Linked DNA regions of Homo sapiens: region 2 is linked to region 1. The links are contacts of gene promoters, found by promoter capture Hi-C in blood cells and fetal thymus (Javierre and others, 2016). All regions are on one chromosome and are shown on one strand. The core of a region is centred on a gene start or on the middle of the fragment in contact, and the rest is flanking DNA. Distances in the headings are between cores, read along the strand shown.

Region 1 (4,370 bases), core at 569-3,068:
ATTTAGTGGAGGCAAATTTAAGAGTTAGGAACCTTCCATTCTGTCAACTGTAGGGGAAGGAGGAAACTAATATTGACTTTGTTTTGTTTTTTTTTTGTTTTTCCGGAGACGGTCTTGCTCTGTTACCCAGGCTGGAGTGAAGTGGCATGATCATGGCTCACTGCGGCTTCAACCTCCTGTGCTCAAAAAACTCTCCCACCTCAGCCTCCTGAGTAGTTGGGACCACAGGTGTGAGCCATCATGCCCAGGTATTTTTAAAATTTTTTTGTAGAGACGGGGTCTCACCATATTGCCCAGGCTAAACTCCTGGACTCAAGCCATCCACTCTCCTCAGCCTCCCAAAGTGCTGGAATTACAAAGGTGAGCCATCATGCCTGACCACGGTTTGAGGTGTTTTTGTTTGTCTGTTTTTTTGTTTGTTTTTTGAGACAGAGTCTCACTCTGTCACCCAGGCTGGAGTGTAGTGGTATGATCTTGGCTCACTGCAACCTCCCCCTCCCGGGTTCAAGCAATTCTCCTGCCTCAGCCTCCAGAGTAGCTGGGTCTACAGGCACGTGCCACCATGCCCAGCTAATTTTTATATTTTTAGTAGAGGGGGTTTTGCCATGTTGGCCAGGCTGGTCTCAAATTCCTGACCTCAGGTGATCCACCCACCTTGGCTTCCCAAAGTGCTGGGATTACAAGCGTGAGCGATCATGCCTGACCACCGTTTGAGTTTTTACTATGTGCCAAGCCCCTTCCCAGTCTACTGCATTCCTTGTATTAACCTTTTCATACAAATAATATTATCTCCACTTTGCAAATTGGGGAGTTGGGACTCAGAGAGGTTGGGTAACTTATTGAAGATCACACAGCTGGTAAATGCCAGAGCCATGGAGATGATGGTCCTCCAATTCTAAATTTAACTCTTCACTATCCTGGAATGCTGCCCTAGGAGAGGGCAGTGTGGGTGAAATTTCTAGGTGTATATGGAGATGGGGGGGATGAGGTGGTGCCAGGATTATGGCTTTGGGTTCAGGCAGACTGTGGGCAGATTTAGGGCTGAGAAGTTGATCCCAAGGTTCTCTGGCTTGGCTCTTGGTTTGAAGTTCTTCTAGTCCATATGGTGGGATCAAAAACTCCCAAGTCTAAGGGATGTGGTTGAGCCCGCAGTGGGGGCCAAGAGTAGAGGCTAGGGGTCTCTGGACCATTTTATAGGGTCTCCAGTTCTTAGAGCTTGGGTCTGAGGGTTCTGGGGCCCAAGACCTCCAATTATGGGGTCCAGCTCTTAGGTGTTCAGGCCTGAGGAGCCACGTTCAAGAGTCCCTGTGAAGTTTCAATAGGAAGGGCTTGTTTCAGAAAGTCTCTGGGTTTGCAGGGCTCAGACTGGGGGTCCCATCCTAAAGGCCCTTTTTCTGAGTTTTAGGGTCCTTGGGCCTGGGGGATGAGAGAGATCCAGTTCTGAGGGTTTCAAGAGGTACGGTCCCCGAAAAGCCCAGTTCTGAGAGGCCTGGTTTGGAAATCTCGCCCTGAAGATTCCTGGATCCCAGGGCTCAGGACCAGGCGTCTCTGGATCTGAGGATCCTGGTAGTGATGGCTTAGGGTGGTGTTCCCTGGTCCGAAGCCCGGAGCTAAGGGCACCGGGTCTGCGGTGCGGCTGCGAGGAGCAGGGAAGCGCAGGCCCATGGCAGCCGCGAGGCGGAGGAGCGGGCCAGCGGGCGGCAGTGCTGGCGGCCCCCACACGTTCTGCGCTGGGTCGGCGCTAGGACTCCGGGGCGGCGGCCGTGGGAAGGGCGGCGCTAGGACCCCGCGGGCCCGGCGGCGCGTGGGGCGGCGCGTGTTGACAGCGGCGGCGGTGGAACCGGGCGGGCGGCGGGAGTCGGCGCCTCGGGTTCCTACCTCGCGTCCCTAGGCGGCGGCGGCCGGGCGTCCCGGGATGGCCTTCATGGAGAAGCCGCCAGCCGGCAAGGTGCTGCTGGACGACACGGTGCCGCTGACAGCAGCCATCGAGGCGAGCCAGAGCCTGCAGTCCCACACGGTGCGCGGCCCAGCGGGCGGGCGGGCGGCGTGGGGCGGCCCCGGGCCGCGAGGGGGCTGCGGGCTGCCTGGCGCGGGCCGGGCAGGGTCGTCGGACGGAGACCGGGCCACAGGGTGGGCGGCCCTGGCCGAGAAGGCTGTGGCGCGCCGCTGGGTCTGGGTCAGGGCCCCTGGGGCCCAGGCGAACGCTGAGGCCCGGAGGGGCCAAGGATGGGGACCGCAGCTCCCGGCGCCGCGGGGTGGAAGGAGCTCGGCGGCGACCAGGAAAGCGACTCCGAGTTGGGGGGCGGGGGCGGGGGCTGCGGGATTCCCGGGCTCACCTTGGACTAGGGGAGCAGGAACGAGACCGCTCAGGACCATCCACTTCTGCCCGCCGCCAGCCTTTTCCTTTTTGAGGCCGTGTAATTTCCTCCTTGCAGCTGAGGGTCTGGGTGATGGGGATGAGGGTGTGCCGGGCCAAATGAAGTGTGACTCCAGAGCCTACTTGTTGGGACAGCAGAGTGTAAGTGGCTGGGGTCTGCAGCCCCGTTTCCAGGTCAGCCGCTTGGCCCTGGTCCCGGGAAGTGGTGGGGGCGGCAGTCGGGGCGCTGTTAAGCAGGTGTATGAATGTGCTTCTCTAACTTGCTCTTTAGTGGGCAGTGGTAGCATTCATTTGAGTTTAAAATCCACTCGAGTAGCATAAAGGAGTAATAGGTCCTCATAGTAAACATTGGCAGGGTTCATTTCTGCTACATATACGGTCTTTTATGGGGCTTTAAAACCGTGGTTGTTTTCATTTGCTTGTACCTTTTTTTTTTTTTGAAAGGCCCACTATGCATTATAATTTCCAAGCAATAAATCTAGGAACCAGCAAGAAACCTGGAGCTATCAGCTAGTGGGACTTTTTTGGAAAAGTAATGAGTGAGGAGAGAGATTCCTTCAATTGTGATGTTTTGTCAGTCCACCGAATCAGATTCAGACTCAGAGGCTTGTTTGTTTACCATTGCAGTGTGTTTGGGGGGTCATCATCTGGAGGCTAAAGCTCACAATAGCCTTCTGTTTCTCTTTTCGTTCAAGCTCTTCTGATGACTTCAAAGAGACCTTTTATTCTGTTGTATTAAAGTGAGACTTTTTTGAACCTCAGTTTCCTCTTCTGACAGCCGTGCTTTGTAGGGCTTGAATTGTTCAAAGCATTCACTTCCAGTTAAGAAAATTATTATCTTTTTAAAAAGGGCTATTTATTTCACGCTGTGTGTCTTTAATCCTATTCTGTAGACATGTGAGAAGGCACATACAGGACAGAATTTGTTAAACTTGCTATCATTTGTGCCTAAAGGGAGTATGGCATAAGGGTTGAAATTTAGGATAGGGAGTCAAGAGTAATTCAGCTATTAAATTTGATTTTTGACTTGACTATTGGCAAGTAAGTCTTATAACCTTTCAGGGAATAGTGTCGAGTCCTTTAGGTTTATTTTGTATTGAAAATAAAGAGATAGATGTTTCTAAATACTCACAAATTACTTTCCCTAGGAAGCATTCATGATTTCTACAGCCCCAGCCCATGTGCCTACCCACACCTTAATCTTGATTAGTTTGTCCTGTAATTACTTCTTTACTTTTTGTCTCCACCAGGCTACAAGAGGAGGGGCACTTCTTCCTCACTTTTGAGTCTCATTCCCTGGTTTTTGATAGGATTTCAAATGTGTTTATCAAATGACTAAATAATCCAACTTCAACCTTACTATGCCTCTTTTTCTGTTTATGTAAAATGGTAATTGTAAACATTGAAAAAATAACTTAGAGATCAGTGCTTTAGCTAGGTGGCGAAAGATGTAATAGGATTCTGTTTTTATTGTAAGGGTGTGTGTGTGTGTGTGTGTGTGTGTGTGTCTGTGTGTGTGTGTGTGTGTGTGTGTGTAGAGACAGCGTCTCACCATGTTGTCCAGGCTGGTGTGTGTGTGTGTGTGTGTGTGTGTGTGTGTGTGTGTGTGGAGACAGCGTCTCACCATGTTGTCCAGGCTGGTCTGGAACGCCTGGGCTCAGGCCGTTCTCCTGCCTCAGCCCCACAAAGTGCTGGTATACAGATGTGAGCCACCACACCTGGCCCTGCAGATCTTTTCTTTAAAAAATAAAATAATTTAGGGTAGAAAATGGCAGTTCTTGTAGGGATGACTGACCACAAAAGACAGTGACTCACAGGAGACCCATAGAGGCAGATGTGGTAGAGTAAAAAACTGTAGCATTGTCTTGCGTAATTTTTTGACTGTTCTGTGTTCTTGTCATTTTAGCTGTAAAGTTTGACTGAGAAATGTTGCATCAGCCCTGAAGTTTATTGAGAAAATCTTACGCTGATGCAAACTTTTTGGACTGTTAGT
Region 2 (4,370 bases), core at 829-3,328, 45 kb after region 1:
ACCAAGGCCACTGTGTGAATGGAGTTTGCACTTTCTCTCCATGTCTACGTGGATTTTCTCTGGGTACTCCAGTTTCTTCCCACATCCCAAAGATGTACAGGTTAGGTGAACCAGCATGTCTGCATAGTCCCCATGTGAGTGTGGGTGTGTGTGAGCGCACCCTGACATGGGATGGGTTCCGGCCACCTGAGACCCTAAACTGGAAACATGGCATAAATAATTAACTTGTTAAGTTGGCAAAATCTCACCAATGCTAAGCATTATAATTGCTTAAGTAATTTTCCATTTCTTCTGGATTCTTTAATTACATTTTAATATCTATATAATTGCTTTAAGTAATGAATGTTAAGTGCAAAAATACACCAAGTTAACAACAGCTACCCTCCAAAATAATAATTATCTTGTTTTTATTAATCTTTCTTAAATTATATATAGGTAATATTTATTTCAATGTTTATTATTAGACATGTTTTAGGTCTTTAGAAGTTTGCTGATGTTTTTGTGACCAGAAATATGCTGGAGGAAGTTAATTCTTGTTTATATAAATTAGCCTGGCCGGGCGTGGTGGCTCACGCCTGTAATTCCAGCACTTTGGGAGGCTGAGGTGGGTGAATCACTTGAGATCAAGAGTTTGAGACCAGCCTGGCCAACATGGTGAAACCCCATCTCTACTAAAAATACAAAAATTAGCCAGGCGTGGTGGCAGGCACCTGTAATCCCACTTACTCGGGAGGCTGAGGCAGGAGAATTACTTGAACCCAGGAGGCGGAGGTTGCAGTGAGCCAAGATTGTGTCATTGCACTCCAGCCTGGGTGACAAGAGCGAAACTCTGTCTAAAAATAAATAAATAAATAAAATTAATTAATTAGCCTATGGTAAAATTAGTCTTGTTATTCATTTTGCTTAAAGTCCCAGTTTGTAAGAACCTATAGACAACATTAAGTGATAACTTAGCATACACACACGTAAATGAGATGATATTCTGCAACTTCATAAAATAGTTTCAGGGAAGATACATCAGTTGTGTTTTAGGTAATATATTACCCTTTATTATTTATTTATTTATTTATTTATTTTTGAGACAGAGTCTCACTCCATTACCCAGGCTGGAGTGCAGTGGTGCCATCGTGGCTCACTGCAACCTTTGCCTCCTGGGTTCAAGCGATTCTTGTGCCTCAGCCTCCTGAGGAGCTGAAATTACAGTCGTGTACCACCATGCCTGACTAGTTTTTGTATTTTTAGTAGAGATGGGGTTTTGCTATGTTGATTAGGCTGGTATCTAACTCCTGACCCCAGGTAGTCCACTTGCCTCGGTCTCCCAAAGTGCTGGGATTACAGGCATGAGCCACTGTGCCCGGCCTACCCTTGATTTAATTCATCATGTCCTTGAACCAAAAAATAAAGTGATTGGCTTGGATGTGCAATAGCTAAGTGATGTACTTTCTTCATATGTATGCATTTTATTCAGCTAAAAAAGAAACTGCTATTAGATAAAGCCTAACTGTATAAATGAGGCAAATGATGTGAAATTTGATTCTTATTTGGAAATGAATTATGCTGTGATAGAAAATTTACTCTGTGTATGCTCTGACATATTTTCGTAATTATATTTGAGAAATTGGCAATTTAGAATTATCCGCCAACCTTTTCATCTTGTCCAGTATCAAGTTCAAGGTCTTCATTTGGCTGCATCATTGTTGTTTGAAAAATACAGAATGGAACAGTTAGGTTTGCCCAATTTAATGGTTTAGATTACATCCTTTTCTGAATTCAGGATGCCCTTCTCTTTAGACCTTACCCTCGATCAATACACATGCCACTGGACTGCTCTAATATAAGCACAAGTCTAGAATAGTACTACTCTTTGAAAGTGACTTTGCTCATTAAATTAAAATGCCGATCTCATGCTTTGCTTTTTATGTTTAAAAAATAAACTCACAGTCCCAGCTACTCGAGAGGCAGGCTGAGGTGGGAGGATTACTTGCAACCAGGAGTTCAAGTACATAGTGAGACCCTATCTCTTTCTAAAAAAAAAAAAAAAGAAAAGAAAGAAAAGACTAAAAGTTTTAAATAATGTGGAAAATGATAGTAGATTGAGTACCTGTATTTACTTTTTCTCCCTCCCGAAATCAGTCTAGAATAATAGTGGATTGTTTATATACACAAACACACTCTGAAGGACAAACAGAACAGGAGAAGAAAAAACCACAATAAAACACTTTAAGCTGAAAATCCAGTGGGTGAGAGCTAACTGATTAAGCAAATGTAGGAAGGCAGAATTCTGAGATGGGAAGCAGATAATCTCATTGGGTCTCAATTTATATCACAGAACCCCTGGAAGGTTCCAGCATTGGCAGTACCAGGTGCTGCCCCCAGAGTGGGGTGAAGGTCAAGGAGTTGCAAGTCTGTTTAAGAAGCAGTCAGATCCCCAAATCTCCCATGTCCGTACAACTTATGCCTGCCCTCCTCCCTCTAGCAAAAAACCGTAAGTTTATTTTCTGGAGAGGGTCAGTCTTTAGGCTGGGGTATGCAGGCACATTTGAAAACATGTACGTACTATACGTGAGGACCCCACTCCCTCCCTAGCTTCCTTCTTCCTCTCAACTCCCAGAATTCTGGCAGTCAGGCTTCAGACTTTTCAGGCAGGATATTAGAAGATTGTTTTAGAGGAATCTGTCCTGCCTAAGAGGAAAGAGCTAAAGGTTTGTCCAGTAAAACAGCTGCATAGGGTCATCTGGTAAAATAAAGCCCACAGTAGATAAATCCCAGGGCACTCACCCAGAGGTTCCAGTCAACTTTTGGTGCCCCACTCTTGAATATGGGCTGATAACCAAAGGGTCACCAGACTCCTACAGGACTCATTTTTGTTTCTTATTTAAATGTTTTCATTGGATTTGGACTTCATTTTTCTTCTTTTTTTTTTTTTTTTTTTTTGTGTGTGTGTGTGTGTGTGTGTGTGTGTGTGTGTGTGTGTGACGAAGTTTCGCTCTTGTTGCCCAGGCTGGAGTGCAGTGGTGGGATCTCAGCTCACCGCAACCTCTGCCTCCCAGGTTCAAGCGATTCTCCTGCCTCAGCCTCCTGAGTAGCTGGGATTACAGGCATGCATCACCATGCTCAGCTAATTTTTTGTGTTTTTAGTAGAGATGGGGTTTCTCCATGTTGGTCAGGCTAATCTCAAACTCCCGACTTCAGGTGATTCGCCTGCCTCGGCCTCCCAAAGTGCTGGGATTACAGGCGTGAGCCACCGCGCCCAGCCGGACTTCATTTTTTTAAGGAGTATGTAGACATAACTAGTCTGATCAGATATTAGCATATATATTTTGGTAGCCCTTTATTATTATTATTAGTAGTAGTAGTATTTGAGACAGAGTTTTGCTCTGTTGCCCAGGCTGGAGGGCAGTGGTGCAATCTTGGCTTACTGCAGCCTCCGCCTCCTGGGTTCAAGCAATTCTCCTGCCTCAGCCTCCTGAGTAGCTGGGATTACAGGCACCCACCACCTTGCCTGCCTAATTTTTGTGTGTTTAGTAGAGACGGAGTTTCACCATGTTGCCCAGGCTGGTTTTGAACTCCTGACCTCAGGTGATCCACCCACCTCAGCCTCCCATAGTGCTGGAATTACAGGAGTGAGCCACTGCTCGCGGTAGCCCTTTATTTTTATACCTAAGAACTAGTTTACTTTTTCTCCATGTTCAATACTTAGCTTTGGTAAAAATTTGCCGTGTTCTTCCTTATCTGTTTCAGAAGCATTAGAGTTTCACCTACTTGGTGTAAGTTGCTCTTTAATTGTCTTCCTGTGGATATGTTTTGTAGGACTCTCTGCTTTTTCTAAATTTCACTACTCACATCCCACAACATTATCTTCCCATAATTCTGGCAAAAAGGAGTCCTGGGATACCTCTGAAGTGTGGCCCTTAAATCCCAGTTCCTGTTCATACCTGACTCCCACCAAGAAAGACTTTTAACTTGAAAGTGACCAAAACAAATAGGAAAAAAAGGAACCATCAGGAAGCAGAAGGTATGCAGTGAGAAGAATGCTTTAGACTCTTGAGGAAGATTATCTTTTGTCTTCTCAGAGAGATAAGAAATGGTATTACATTCAAGGTGCTATTAAGGAAGAAAAAGAATAGAAAAGAGTACTTACAAATAAAAAGTAACAGTAGACAACTATTTAGAAGGGCTAAAAGATAAAGGAAATACTCTTTAAAAAAAAGAAAAGCGAAATACAAAAATTAGTCGGGCATGGTGGTGCACATCTGTAGTCCCAGCTACAGGTGTGTACCACTTGTAGAGGCTGAGGTGACAGGATTGCTTGAGCTTAGGAGGTCGAGGCTACAGTGAGCGGTGATCATGCCACTGCACTTTAGCCTGGG

Evidence for each region. The method cuts DNA at HindIII sites, captures the fragments that hold promoters and counts their contacts. A CHiCAGO score of 5 or more calls a contact.
Region 2: a contact is called between a fragment that was not itself captured here and the fragment with the promoter of PXK in region 1, in 3 of 17 cell types (total B cells, naive B cells and neutrophils). The highest score is 9.7, in total B cells.

The regions. Positions count from the first base shown.
Region 1 is chr3:58,331,074-58,335,443 of GRCh38, forward strand. It overlaps PXK (PX domain containing serine/threonine kinase like), which reads left to right and starts at 1,819. Exons shown (of 18, transcript NM_017771.5): 1 at 1,819-2,017. The coding sequence starts at 1,916. RefSeq lists silencers at 1,593-2,122, 2,369-2,663. The HindIII fragment of the contact is 5,516 bases long and covers 1-4,370 here.
Region 2 is chr3:58,375,580-58,379,949 of GRCh38, forward strand. The region is part of intron 3 of PXK (PX domain containing serine/threonine kinase like); the gene reads left to right. It also overlaps the pseudogene WDR53P1. Among named protein-coding and RNA genes, the nearest start is that of PXK, 45 kb to the left of the region's middle. RefSeq lists a silencer at 2,277-2,504. The HindIII fragment of the contact is 5,157 bases long and covers 1-4,370 here.